Linked DNA regions of Homo sapiens: region 1 is linked to region 2. Evidence: promoter capture Hi-C in 16 types of primary human blood cells and fetal thymus (Javierre and others, 2016). All regions are on one chromosome and are shown on one strand. Each heading gives the region's core, a stretch centred on a gene start or on the middle of the fragment in contact. The rest is flanking DNA. Distances are from core to core; before and after follow the strand shown. Region 1 overlaps DIP2C (disco interacting protein 2 homolog C). Region 2 holds the start of GTPBP4 (GTP binding protein 4).

Region 1 (6,979 bases), core at 627-3,126, 480 kb after region 2:
ATGTTGTCCCGGGAGGCCACTGTGTGTTGGGGGATAGGAGGCAGCTGCAGACTGCAGGAGTGCCCAGCCCCTTGGTGCAGGGTGGTGTAGGCATGCGTGTTGCTGGGAGTGCCTTCTGCATGTGAGTACTGGGGATTCTATTCTGGTACGTTGGCGTATCATTCAGCGTCCCCATCACATTTGAGATGAACTGTGCTCTGTGAGTGGCCCTGCCCTGGGTCATGACCACACGCTGGACTTGAGCTGTGGGAGCCACATGGACAGTTGAAAGCCTCAGACCCCAGGGCTACACACACTGAGATTTCCCAACTGCCTCTCCCCAGGCCTTGGGCTGATCCCCCTTGCTGCTGCTGTCCCAACCCCTGACATGGCACAGCTTCCCTCTCAGAAGATGTCATGCAGCTTGTCTGCTCTTCATAAATCTTATGCACATTTGGATGCCTTAGCTTCATGCAGAAGTCCTGCAAGCAGGAGAAAATGGAGCCTTGACTCTGGGCTGGTGGTCTCCAGGCATCTCTCTCCAGCTGCATCCCAGCAAGTCAAGGTTATTTAAATGTGTCTTCCGAAGGGTAACGAGCATGGGAAGCATGTCAATGCCATGCAGTGTGAGGTGGTTCTGGGAATAACAGTACCTAGCAGCACATACCAGCACTCCCTTGTGCTGCCAAATGTGACATCGTGTAGATGTCACAACCTCCTTTTGTCACCTGCGTTCCTAATCCCCTGGATTTCTCAGCTTCTTTACTTCTCCAGGAGAAAACCTGCCCCATTGTCCTGTTACCTCTGAAAGGGAGTTTTTACAGCAGGAGATGATGCTGTAGCTGTCAGTGTAGGCACATGCAGCATCCTACTGTTGTCAGGTGCGCCCAGAGGAAATATGGCTGGGCAGGTGGTCCCCATCTCCTGTGGTGTCAGGGGCACCCACAGGAAGCACAGCTGGGCAGGCAGCTCTGTCTCCCTGGTGTCAGGTGCACCCAGAGGAAATATAGCTGGGCAGGTGGTCCCCATCTCCTGTGGCGTCAGGGGCACCCACAGGAAGCACAGCTGGGCAGGTGGCTCCATCTCCCTGGTGTCAGGTGCCCACAGAGGGAATATAGCTGGGCAGGTGGTCCCCATCTCCTGTGGGGTCAGGGGCACCCACAGGAAGCACCGCTGGGCAGGCAGCTCCATCTCCCTGGTGTCAGGTGCACACAGGAATCACAGCTGGGCAGGTTGTTTATTGCCAGGAAGTACAGCTGGGGATCAGTCGAGAGCCTCAGGCAGGGGGTTAATAGATTGGAAAGGTTGAGAACCTTGGCTTGATCACTAACACACAAATTGTGGCAGTAGAAGGTGGAGATGCCCCTGTCCGTTCCTCAAATGTTTTGCTTTCTCCTGTTTCCTGAAGAGCGTCTTGTTGCCTCCTAAGATAGCTCCTGCGTGTATATCTGTATATCCTTGTAGAGGGACTAGAGACACTGCTGGGAAGTTAGTGACTCTGTGTTGATGAGGTGCCGGTTATTAGTCTGTTGCCTTAAAACATCAGCAATTGGAATTGCTCCTCGGAACATGACTGGACCCGTTGCCGTTTTCTGTACAGTTTTCTTTTGGGGAGATGCACACGGTTCCGGGAAGGGTGCTGGGCTGCAGTAATATGGGTGTGGACACAGGTCCCATCAGAATAGTATCCCTTGGAGGGCAGGGTGGGGATCCCGCGGGTTCACGGCGGTTTTGCTGAATGAATGAATGAATGAATGAACGAACCTAGCACTGAGAGTCACATGAGCTCATATGGAAACAGCTTGGAGTGTTGAGAAATGGAGATTGAAGAGCTCACCTCTTCTCTGAGTATGACGGGGTCAGCACCGCTGGAGCTGAGGGTTTGACATGCAATGAAAGCCGTGATGCAGCCATAGTGCGATTTGGTTTATATAGCTATTGCCTTCTGTTATGAAGCTGAAAAGAACCAGGTTAGCGGCCACCTGCTACTCAGGCCTTATGCTTTCTTAGGAAACAGTAAGATGTACTAAATTTTTAGTGTTAAAGTGACAGAACATGGGAACACGGGAAGCGTCTCATCTTGTCACTTGTGACTTGGACACGGAGCCCGTGGGTGCTTCTCTCCATGGTCAGACTTGGTCATGGAGCCGTGGGTGCTTCTCTGCATGGTCAGACTTGGTCACGGAGCCGTGGGTGCTTCTCTGCATGGTCATCTTGCAGCTTCTGAGTCCCATCCTCGCTCTCCCGGCCTAAGGTGGCTGTGCTAGGGATCACACCTGCAGGTCTGACGGCAACATTGTGTGCTGGGTTTCTCTCCCAGGACTTCCAGGTAGTTCGTGCCTGGAATAGTTCCATGGTAGCAGGGTATCAGCGGGTGGCCAGCCTCGGCACGCCTGCATGGATTTGCCGTCTCGGGGGTGGGAGCCCCATGGCAGACGGCTGTTTCCCTTGCGTGCCTCTTCCAGCGTGGCCTTTATTCTCCACAGGGCGTTGGAACTGATTTTTGCACAACAGTGATTTGACAGTGATTGATACGCTGTGGGTCTCCAGCCCAAGGAGATGGGGATAAATACTCTTTATTGCTCTTTCATGCTCTGGTTAGGAAGGCAGTTAGGTTGAAGGCTGCAGTTACCACCTGTGTGTGTCGTGAGATGAAGAGAGAGTATTTCCATGAAATCCTCTCAGGTTACAGAATTAGACCAGTTGTATCTATAACCCAGAAGTTGAAAGCAGTTGACTTTAAGTGTGATCAGGAATCTGGAATTTAATTTCTGAGTAAAATAATTACTGTGGAAATGAGTCTTTGGACTTGGAATTGAAATCAATGGTTGTAAATTTAGGGTAAGTCACAGTAATGGGTTTAGACAAAACGTCTGATGTAGGCGGCAGAGATTTTCAGGTGTATATAGAACCGTGATGAAAACCATAGGGGACAAAGGAGGATTGTCCTGTCCTGAAAGATGTAAAAATGCGGTTACAAATGCAGACCTCAGTGTGCATATAGAGGCCAGCAAACGTTAACTCGGTGTTTGGCACAGCAGAGGGGTAAGAGCCGAAGGAATATTGCTGGATGTTCTTCAAATGACTCTTCCCTCTCAGGGTGGAAGCTGTGGTTAGCACCCACTGGTTTTGGGTCTGTCAGTGACGACTCCTGGATGGTCAGGTGGTGCTCTCAGAGAAAGAGGCTAGGAACACTTCCATGGTTTTCCGCCAGCTTTAAGATACATCTTTGTAGCCCTTGGTTCCATTTGTTTCTCCCTTGTAGTTTTATTTTGCTTGTTAAATTTATGTATAGTAGCACTGCCACTCTCTTTTGTGGTCAGTTCTTTTAGTTTCCGAGTGCTTATTATGTCCATCCACTTCATTGAAGTGTCTGTTCGATCTTTGCCAGTTTTTAAATTGGAACGTTTATTGTCCTGTTTCTTTCCCTTTCATGTAACTTTTAGCTTGTCTGCATCTACAGAAAGTCCTGGCAGGATTTATGTTGGAATCATGATAAGTCCGCAGGTCGGTGTCCTGGCGGGATTTATGTTGGAATCGTGGTAAGTCTGCAGGTAGGCATCCTGGCGGAATTTATGTTGGAATTGTGGTAAGTCCGCAGGTCAGTGTCCTGGCGGGATTTATGTTGGAATCGTGGTAAGTCTGCAGGTAGGCGTCTTGGCGGAATTTATGTTGGAATTGTGGTAAGTCCGCAGGTTAGTGTTCTGGCGGAATTTATGCTGGAATTGTAATAAGTCTGCAGGTCGGTGTCCTGCCAGGATTTATGCTGGAATTGTGGTAAGTCCGCAGGTCAGTGTCCTGGCGGGATTTATGTTGGAGTTGTGGTAAGTCTGTTGGTCAACGTGGAGAGAATTGGTGTCTTGACTGTGTTGCCGCTTCTCCTTGGACTCGTGGCTCAGTTGAGGTAGCTCTTTCCTTTCTTTCTTCAGTGTTTTGTGGTTTTCTTCATACACATCCTCTGTGTGCTTTGTTAAATGTATACCTAAGTGTTTTTTATACAGCTACTGTAAATAGTGTTGTTTTTAACATTTAGGTCCCAAATACTAATTGCCAATACGTAGAGTACACTTTGACTGTGTGCTGTGACTTGGCTGAACTCAGGTATTGGATCTAGGACTGACTTTTGTAGATCCCTTGGGAATTTTTATACGTAGGCTTTTGGTGTGACTTGAGTTTCCTCCTTTCTGTTTTCAGTTTCTTTGATTTGTGCTCATTATGATGTCTTTTTCTGGCTTTGAGTTTAACATAGAAGCTTAGATTATGGACCTGAGACCTTACTTTTTTCGAATATGAGCCTTTCGTCCTATGAGCTTACTTCCCATCATTATTTTGGCTGCATTTCATAGATTTTAATTTTTGTTTCAGTTCACTTGAAAAGTATTTTCCTTTGAACACTCATGGTGGTTTTATTTAGTTCACCCAAATCTCATTTTAGCAAAAGATAAAAATTCATGTAGGTTTAGTTCCTGTGTGTGCCTCATAATATCTTCACATTCTGTGCATTGACCAGTAAATGATTGGGCTTATCAGGGAGATGGTTGCATGGTATATTGGTGTTGTAAAAACTATGATGTGGGAATTTGAATGTTTTTGAGACAGGGTCACTATCACCCATGCTGGAGTATAGTGGTGGAATCATAGCTCAGTGCAACCTCGACCTCCCAGGCTCGAGCAATCCTCCCACCTCAGCCTACTGAGTAACTGAGACTACAGGTGCATGCTGTCATACCCAATTAATTAATTTTGTTTTTTGTAGAAATGGAGTTTCACTATGTTACCCAGGCTGGTCTTAGACTCCTGGGCTCAAGTGATCCTCCCACCTCAGCCTCCCAAAGCACTGGGATTACAGGTGTGAGCCAGCACACCTGGCCAGGAATTGAAGTGCCACGAAGGTGCAGAGGTTTTATGTTTTGTGTTCTGATATTGCCAAATACCTGGCACAGTGCCTGGCCTGTGGTCGGTGTGTAACGCATATTCCTGAATGAATGGATATTGCGGTGCCTATGTGTTGAATTCAATGTAATTTCACTCAGTTGTGTTTCTCCGTGCCAGTCCTTTTGCCTGTCTGGACTGCTTTGTTCTGCAAGTCACCTTGTAATACGATCATATTCTTCGATCGGTTTTGCACTTTGATTATTGACCTTTTTTTCATTTTAAATGAAGCCTCCCCATTCTTTCTGATCAGATATTCTCATCTTCCCTCTATAATTGGGGTAATATGGTATCAACGCATGTGTTTTCATAAACATATTATTATAAAAATCCTTGAATACATATGTGCTTACATAAACAGGTTTGTTTCATAAAAGTTGGTATTGCAAAGCAGAGATCTTAACAAGTTCTACTCATAATGTATCAATGAGTATAGGACTGCATACATTCTACTTTATTTGCCTTCTAAATAAAGTATATTCTTAATTATTGCCACTTAATAAAGGTTGGGCAAGATCTTCTAGAAAGGATGTTTCCACAAACTAAAGTGTGTACTATCAACATTATTATTTAAATAGCTAGTGAAACCATCAAAATCTTACCACATTTACATGTTGCACCAGGAATCATCTCTGCTTTCCTCCCTGCAACTCAGTATTTTTGACACAATGTGAATTAGTGCACAGGAAGCCTCAGTGTTTCCTGGAGGGTTGCCCGCAGCTCACTGGCCTCAGAGAAAGTCATAATGTGTGTACAAACTTCTCTGGAATAACTTGAGCTTATTACATATAACTTCTGGTAGGTCATTTGCCCCCTCCGCTCTCCAAAAGAAAACCTCAGGCCTCTTAAATTAACTACAAGCCTTTTTGGGACTGAGCCATTATTTTACACAGCAAGGTTGTCAGAAAAAAAATAGCTTTAAGGATGATAGAAAGATCTTAGCATTTTCTGAAGCCTGAAACCTATGGGGGGAGACATCGCAGTCATTCCTGTCCTGATGGGACCTGGCCTGTCTTGTTTTGTTATCCATTGCTTACCCAGATGAGGTGATTTGTTTAAGAAAATCATTGGAGTCATTGAATTAAGCATCCCTGTATTTCCAGCTTTTAAAAGATTTTAAGTTAAAATACAACTTTTTAAATCTTTTATCCAGCGAACATTTGGTGATATTGTGTCTGTGTTTCGTGTGCACTTTGTTTTGTGTAGGATTTCTGTTTTATGTACTCTGTCCATTGCATGGCACACAATAGGTATTAAATATTTGGGGGATGAATGAGGAAATAAAGTTCAGGATAATTTCTATGGCATTTGGAAATTCTCGTGTAAAACCTAGGCACGTACAGTGTTCCCAAACAAGGGCCAAGTGAAAGCTGCAGTATTTGTTTGATTAATTACTAAGGAGCAGTCACTTTCCCTTCATGTATCCTGGACTTGTGGGGTCACAGGACCTACTGAAATAGTACTGTATAACGTCTGCTGGAGCAGCCAAGGGCTGGTGGCTGCAGGTCTCAGGAAGAGAACACAGAAGTAGCCATGGGCCCTGCTCCTGAGACAGGCCAGGGGTTGGCTCTGAACCCACCTTTGCCCCAGACGCTGATGAGCACAGAGGTGGTTGTCAGGGAAGCTGGCACATTGCCTGCAGGGGTCCCTGGCAGGTACAGATGTAGGGGAGGGCCCAGCTGAACCCACATCTGCTGTGAAGGCTTGCAGGAGTCTGCGCTTGCTGAGGGGGCCCTAGTTTTATTCCCTGGGTCTGAACTTGCTCTCAGTGGCCCTGTCTGCCTTCAAAATCCACCCGAGCAAGAGCTGGGCTTAGGGTTGGGGCCCCTTCCCCAGTCCCATTGTGGCAGGGTCAGGTTACTGGAGATAAGTCCTAGTCAGCACCTAGGCTATTAACAAGTTCGAGGGGCTGGCATATCCATGCTTGCTCTATGATAAAGTCAACAATTTGGCAGATGGTAACTAGACATTTCAGAGTTCCTTTAAAATGGTGTTAGTAAAGCCCATGATACGGTTTGGCTCTGTATCCCCACCCAAATCTCATCTCGAATTGTAATTTCCATAACCC
Region 2 (7,761 bases), core at 911-3,410:
CCGCCACCACGCCTGGCTAATTTTTCTGTATTTTTAGTAGAGACGGGGTTTCACCGTGTTAGCCAGGATGGTCTCGATCTCCTGACCTCGTGATTTGCCCGCCTCAGCCTCCCAAAGTGCTGGGATTACAGGCGAGAGCCACCGCACCCGGCCTCGACTTACCTCTCTTGAAAATGACTTCCAAAGAGGCAGGTATTTTATCTAATGCATTTTTGTAACACAGTACCCGATGCACAGGACAGGCACTCACTCAACATCTTCTAGAATGAACTGAATACCACACTTTCCCGATGTGATTTTTTTTTTTTACTTCCAATCACCAAACAATTACCATCACCCAGTTTTTAGATAAGTCATCTGTTCTCTAAAAATATAAATCTCACTCCACAGAACAGAAGACGGATGGTGTATAATATATTCTAAAGTTCTCCACATAAGTCAATAACATGAACAAAGTTCATATAATCCAAAGAGCAAATTCCTTCAACAAACCTGAGAGATGGTTGACCAAAAATACAAATAAGACATGACTCCTGCACTCGAAAATACTACAATCTGGCTGGGCACAGTAGCTCATGCCTGTAATCCTAACACTTTGGGAGGCTGAGGCAAGTGAATCACTTGAGATTAGGAGTTCAAGACCAGTCTGGCCAACATGGTGAAACTCCACTTCTACTGAAAATACAAAAATTAGCCAGGCCTGGTGGCGCATGCCTGTAGTCCCAGCTACTCGGGAGGCTGAGGCAGGAAAATCACTTGAACCTGGGAGGCGGTGGCTGCAGTCAGGATCACACCACTGCGCTCCAACCTGGCCAACAGAGCGAGACTCCATCTCAAAAAGAAAGAAAGAAAATACTACAATCGATCAAGAGATGTGCCAGAACAACTGTCAGGAAGAAATAAGAAATGGTGGAGAGAAGTGGGGAAACAACTTTTGCTATGAAGGTAAAATACGAGACTCCCACAAAGCTTTCCAAGGCAAGCTCATCCCGTCCTTGAGACCTGAAGAAAAGGAGGCACTGACGAGGGGAAAACAGTCACTCTGCAGGGACTTCAGTAACTCCCTCTCGTGCAGGAGTCCCTGGGAGGCTCCAGTTGCCCGTCAATGTCTGTGTAATTGCGACCCAAATCGAATGTTCACTACATAAAAACGTGACTTCTTAAAAGTCCTAATACTAGGGCCGGGCGCAGTGGCTCACGCCTGTAATTCCAGCACTTTGGGAGGCCGGGGCGGGAGGATCACCCGGGATCAGGAGTTCGAGGCCAGCTTGGCCAACGTGGTGAAACCCCGTCTCTACTAAAAATACGAAAATTAGCTGGGTGTGGTGGTGCACGACTGTAATCCCTGTTACTCGGGAGGCTGAAGCAGGAGAATCGCTTGAACGCGGGAGGTGGAGGTTGCAGTGAGCCGAGACTGCGCTCCAGCCTGGGAAACAAGAGCGAAAAACTATGTCTCAAAAAAAAAAAAAAAAAAAAAAAGTCCTAATACTCAACACTTGTTGACTCATTCTTGCCACACCAACCAACGCTGTAAAAATTTAGTCTGGGCCTACTATGGTCTGAAAAGGAACAGGTATTCCCAAATCTAACAGTGAAAGAGAATGACTTAAAAATTATGAAACGTTAAATCACGAGAACAACGAACCCAGGATTCCTGAGAGGGGAGGGGGCTACGCCAAACCCAGAATCCGAAGGCTCATCACGGACCACGGAACGCTTCCTCCCTCACATGTCGGGGTCCCCCTCCACTCGCCCACATCGTCACCCGGGGCCCCTCCAGGGAACCCAACTCTGGGTGTACCCCCATCTCTGGGGGCCCTCAGTCTTTGGGTGGACCACGGTCTTAGGTGGACCCCGGTCTCTGGGGGATCCGATCTCTGGTGGACCCCGGATTCTGCTGGGGGAGGGGAAATGATCCCGAGTACGCGGCCAGACGGTCAGGCCCAGGAGCGGGGGATGGGCGAGCGGAAGGCGACCGCTCTCCCACGGCTACAGGCCCGGACCCTCCCCGGGGACCCAGCTGAGGAGAACGCGAAAGTTGCAGTGGCCCTCCCGGGGCCGCCTACCTTGGCGGACGGCACCACCGTAATTTTCTTGAAGTTGTAATGTGCCATGCCGGCAGCCGTATGCACGCGGGTACTTGGCACTCCCGGAACTTCCGCCGTCGGGCGCAGGTGGGACTTCCACTGTCGGGCGGTTGAGGTACGTCACTTCCGGGAGCTCAGCCAATCGTGTTCTGCGTGCTCTACGGCGCTTTCCGCGTCGCACAGCGCACCCGCCCGGCTTGGAGGTCAGCCACGGAGGGCGTGTGAGGGCCTCAGGAGCGAGGGTACAGAGGAGAGGACGCCCGGGTTTTAGGGGGAGCGCGGAGACTAAATTCCTGCTGAGTAAAGCGGGGGTTTCCGACAGACTGCCCTGCGGGTTTCTGGAGCGGGTTCAGGCCCCCAGCCACGCGCCCTGGGCCAGGGTTGGAGGGTCCGGGGTCTTGGGATTTGGGAGTTGCGGGGCTTAGGAGTCCAGAGGGTCTAGGGGATCCGGGAGTCTGGGGGTCCTGGGTCGCGGCGAGCCCCGCAAAGGAGGAGGAAGCCGCGCGTGCGGGGCGTGCCCAGCCTCTGGGTGTGGAGCAGATGACGCCCCTACCCCGGCCTCGCGCGTGGGACTTGATCCCGGGCCGTGGTGAGGAGGCCCTCGCGGCTTCCCTGCAGCCCTGCTTTCTCGTGCTTGTTAAATCCCAAAACGGGCGGAGAAGGGAAAGCCTGATCTAAGGCAAAAGAGGTGCAGCTGGTTCCGCGCAGTGCCTTAGGAGAGCCCAGGGAACAGTTGCGAGAGACAGTCCTGTGGGGTCCAACTGAGGAGAAGGTTGATGAGGATGGAGCCTTTACTGCTTTTATGTTTGTGAATAGAGTGGCCGCTCCCTTTGGGAACCCAGGGCCACATCCCTTAAATTAAACGTTAGGTAGGGCTGACTCAGTCAAGCAGTGTTCAGAGCTGCTGACTATATATTAACTCGTTTAATTTCTGCAACAGCCTCATGAAGTGCATGGGGAAACAAAGGCACACAAGGCTCGAAAGCACCCCGTGGTTGTGCAGCTGACAAGCTAACAGGCAGCAGAGGTGGGCTTTGAACCCAGGCAGCCTGGCTCCAGCAAACCTGCTTCTAACCATTAGCTATACTGCTTCTCACGCATCTGGGATGCCCCCCACTCTCCAATCCTTTTAAACAAGTCCTATTATTCTTACGCGAAAATACCTCTCATAAATTCCCAGCATTCCAATATTGAAAATCATTCTGGGTCATGCTTTTCTCATCTATTAACTATGCTTCCATTTTTGTGTCACAAGGCGGATAAGCATACCTCCTACATCTTTGTGGCACTTCTAAAGGAAGCTTCTAGGGTAATTAGGATTTGCTGGCTATGATCATTTGCTAAACCACAGGACAGTTCTGGCCACCATTTCCGAGATTAGCAAAGCTATGCTCATACTTATTGCCCTTTCTTTTAGGTTCTTGTATGTTTCCTCAACCTCTCCCACTTTCTCTCACTCTGATATAGCCAGTTCCTCTTTTTCTTGTAATCCGGTATTTAGATAAGTCCAGTCAATACTTTGCTTCAGATGGGCAAACATCCTTTCTTTAATTTTTTTTTTTTTTTTGAGACGGAATCTCACTCTGTCGCGCAGGCTGGAGCGCAGTGGCGCCATCTCAGCTCACTGCAACCTCCGCCTCCAGGGTTCAAGCCATTCTCCTGCCTCAGCCTCCCAAGTAGCTGGGATTACAGGCACCTGCCACCACTCCCGGCTAATATTTTGTATTTTTAGTAGAGACAGGGTTTTACCATATTAGCCAGGCTGGTCTCAAACCCTGACCTCAAGTGATCCACCCACCTTGGCCTCCCAAAGTGCAGAGATTACAGGCATGAGCCACCTGCTTTTAACTTGTTCAGCTACAAAGGCATGTCTGTGAATGCACAACCATAATGACTCATCATGGGCCCAGAGCTATAACAATGATAAGGTACCAAGCATCTTACACCATGTGCGTGTTGATGAGAATCAACATCCTTGCCTGTTCTTGTGATTTTGTGGCAGAGTATAGCTTCTTGGGGGCAAGTATGTATTCTACACCACTAGGAGCAAGCTTCTTTATCATACACTTCTGGGCTTCTCTGGGGAAGCCAAACTCTAAAGGCCTTTTCTGAGGAGTGTCGCAAATGCTGCCTGCAGTACGAGGCACATTGCCAGTTCCTGACTGCATTAGCAGGTTCCAGCTGCCAGGACGCCTCTGAGTGTGTACCTTGTGACAGAAAGGTACTTCTCAGCTGTAGTAAAGGATGCTCTCAAGGGTACTCTGCAAAGCTTCTGACTGCGAGGCACTTCTCAGTAAAAAGCTTTGTTTTTCAGACCTTTTTATTTTGTGGGTTTGGTCTTTTCTGTTTTACCTTCTCGTTGCTGTAATTCTGATGGATGAAAGGTACATTTTGCAGAACTGAACTTCCTGCCTGAAAGGAGCCTTTACATGGGGATTAGCCATCAGTAGGCATCCGGTCTTAGAGGGTCCTATGAGTGCTCCATTGGGCCCGTCGGCCACTTCCCTGGATCCCCACAGGAACTCATTCAGAACGAGTCACATGCTGCTTTGTACCTAGATGCTTCCTTGTGTACATCTTGTTTCCAAAAGAAGTAGCCAGCTCTTCGTGGACAGGAACTGTGTCTTACTTTTTTGCCATCCCTCACCTCAGGCAGCACTGCCAAGAGCATTCACAGTGACTGTGGAACTCCGTTGATTGAATGTTGGCTTGAGTAAGTTCCTGATGTAGGGGCTGTAGCGGTTGGAATCAAGCTTCTGCAATACTCAAGTAGTCCTACTGAATTACAGTACTGTCAGACCCCCTCTGCACAACCCTGAAGTGGGTCAGAACTCCACACTGTGCCATAAAGAGGAAAGCTGTCAACAGGGAGGTCTAAGGAAACACCTCCTTAGGTGGAAGGCAGCAATGGCATGAGAGCCACCCTCCGGGCCAAAGGTGCAGCCTGACATTCTCTGCAGAATTACACAGTGAGTTAAGACTGTGAGCTTCATTTCTGAGATACAGCTCCACCCGCTGTGATCCTGGGAAAATGTCTCAGCTTCCCCAAGCCTCTGTTTCTTCACTCTTTGCTCACTTACTATCTACCAGGCATGTTAAAAATACTTTATGTGAATTATTTTAGCTTTTCACTAACCCTATTCTACAGGCATTAATAAGTGAGCAAAGAGATTGTGTATTATTAATTATGCATTATGTATTATCTATGTTCTTATTAGCTGCTTAGTTACAATAATATTTGCTAAACTTTTGTTCTATTCATTAAATTATCGTTGAACCTTAACAACTGCAATGCAGGGAGCCTCCACCATGTGCCAGGTCACTTGCTTTCTTCTCGGGACAGCATAGTGAGGTGGGTGTGATTGTCTCTGTTTCACAGACAAGAGTGCTGGCTTTGAGGTGGTTGAGTGCTTGCTCACCGTCACACAGCTGGAGAGACACAATGAGGTGCGTTCAGGGCGCATGGAACTCCAAAGCCACTCTCCTTTTGCACTGCCAGCCGAGAGTGGCTTTGTTCTTGACCTCTGTAGAGTTATTACCTTGTTTGGTATTTGTTTGTTTGTTTATTTATTTATGAGACAGGGTCTCACTCTGTCGCCTAGGCTGGAGTGCAATGGTGTGATCTTGGCTCACTGCAACCTCCACCTCCCAGGTTTAAGCAATTCTCAGATTTAAGTGCCTCAGCCTCCCGAGTAGCTGGGACTACAGGTACATGCCACCACACCTGGCTACTTTTTGTATTTTTTAGTAGAGGGGAGATTTCGCCATGTTGTCCAGGCTGGTCATGAATTGTTTGGTATTTAAATGGAGGTACATGATGGATTGCACTTGGGGTCATATGCTGTCAATAATCCCCCAGCACCTGTGTTTCACTAAAGCACTGTTTGCATATGCAGACAGGTTGTGTTTCTTCTGTGAGAATTCCGTTCCTGTGCGTGGATCATGACAGGCACCTGTGCTAATGAACTTCTGCCCTTGCTCACGTCAGAGCTGCTGATAAGGGGTGTTTCTATGGGTTGAGTACGAGTCATTCTATTGACACACTGTTAAAAACATTCTTTGCATTCTGCTGTTCCATAAAGGAACAATTTTAGGTTTAATGGAAATCTTGCGATCTCTTTTCCTAGAGAAGATTTGTGATAATAATCATACACGTATTTGGAATGCATGTACTTATGCTTGTATGATCAATTTCCAAATGATTCTAAATATCTGCAGGCAGAATTTCTTAAGATTAGCATTCTGTGCTGTACCCAAAAAGATACTCGAGATAAGCAAAGACAAGTTTCATGTTGCAACAGACATCTGAATCCTTAGTGTTTCTGGAAGCTGGTTAAGCAGGTGGTTGTGATGTCTGACCCTCAGGTTAAAAACAGTGAAAAAAATTCACTTTGATGATGTGACGTCATTGTCACAAGTTTAATAATTGATTTTGAAGGTCTGCACAAGGAAACCATAATGCTTTAGCAATTTCCGTTTTCCAGAGGGAGGAGGCTTAAAATTTCAATTCCAGCCCTGCCACCAACTTCTAGACTAATAGTAAGCTAAGTGCCTTTCCTGCTATTATTTTTAATTAAAAACATATTATTTCCTCACAAAAGCATAGAAGTATAAAAATAATAGTATTCACTATCAGAATGTATGTGTCTGGACAGTCTAAATTATCCTGTGATAACAAATAGTCTCCAAATCTCAGCATCAGTTATTTCTCTCTGATGCTCCACGCCCACTGCTGTGGACCAAATTAAGTCTCCCCAAATTCATACGTGAAAGCCCTGTCTCCCAGTGTTAAGGTGTTTGGAGATGGAGCCTTGGGGAGGTAATTCGGTTCAGAAAAGGTCACGAGGCTGGAGCTCTCCTGATGGAATTAGCACACTTATGAGAAAAGACACCAGAGAGCTGCTCCCAGGCTTCCCCGACCCCATGCTTGCACCAAGGAGAGACCATGTGAGCACAGAGAGAAGGCGGCTTTCCACAAGCCAGGAAGAGGCTGCACCAGAACCCAACTATGCTGGTGTCCTGATCTGGACCTTCCAGTCTCCAAAACTGTGAAAAGAAAATTTTCTGTTGTTTAAGCCACTCAGTCTGGTATTTTGTTATGGCAGCCCAAGCTGGTTAAGATACTCACCATAGGTCAGCAGGGGCCTCTGTTCAGGATGGTCATTGAGGGAGCAGACTCCTGGAGTAAAGGTTGACAATAGCTATGCTGAGGAAAGGGGAATGAATTTGACAATTAAATGTTTCCGTCTCAGCTCCCATGGGCCTATTTCTGGACAGTGAGTTGAGAATAACAGAGTTATCTGTAAACAGTACTGATGCCTACTGCATTGGCATCTAAAGAAGATGCTCTTTAAATCTGTGCTCAACTGATAATTAATCCAAATATGCTACAACGAATAATGTCAAAATACTTAAGTTTAGAAAATCCGAACCTATGACCAATACATAAAGAGAAAGGTAATAACCCCTCTTCTGTTCCTCTGTCCCAGGCTAATATTGACTAATGCAGGTCTTCCTTCATAAATGTTCATTCATTTAAAAACTCCATTAAAGCATCAGTATACCTGGGGACTGACAAAGTAGGAATTCCAAACTCTTAAGAAAACATGAAAGAACTCTTGTGAATGATCCCTACCCAGCAAATAACTCCTATCCTGTTTCCTTTCGCCTTATA

The links. The method cuts DNA at HindIII sites, captures the fragments that hold promoters and counts their contacts. A CHiCAGO score of 5 or more calls a contact.
Region 1: a fragment that was not itself captured here is called in contact with the fragment with the promoter of GTPBP4 in region 2 in 1 of 17 cell types (endothelial precursors); the score reaches 6.2 in endothelial precursors.

Annotation. Positions count from the first base shown.
Region 1 is chr10:499,734-506,712 of GRCh38, reverse strand. The region is part of intron 1 of DIP2C (disco interacting protein 2 homolog C); the gene reads left to right. Among named protein-coding and RNA genes, the nearest start is that of DIP2C-AS2, 130 kb to the left of the region's middle. RefSeq lists an enhancer at 6,088-6,979. The HindIII fragment of the contact is 4,714 bases long and covers 1-4,233 here.
Region 2 is chr10:982,833-990,593 of GRCh38, reverse strand. It overlaps GTPBP4 (GTP binding protein 4), which reads right to left and starts at 2,160. Exons shown (of 17, transcript NM_012341.3): 1 at 2,067-2,160. The coding sequence starts at 2,114. It also overlaps a transcript of LARP4B not described here. RefSeq lists an enhancer at 1-413. The HindIII fragment of the contact is 2,419 bases long and covers 972-3,390 here.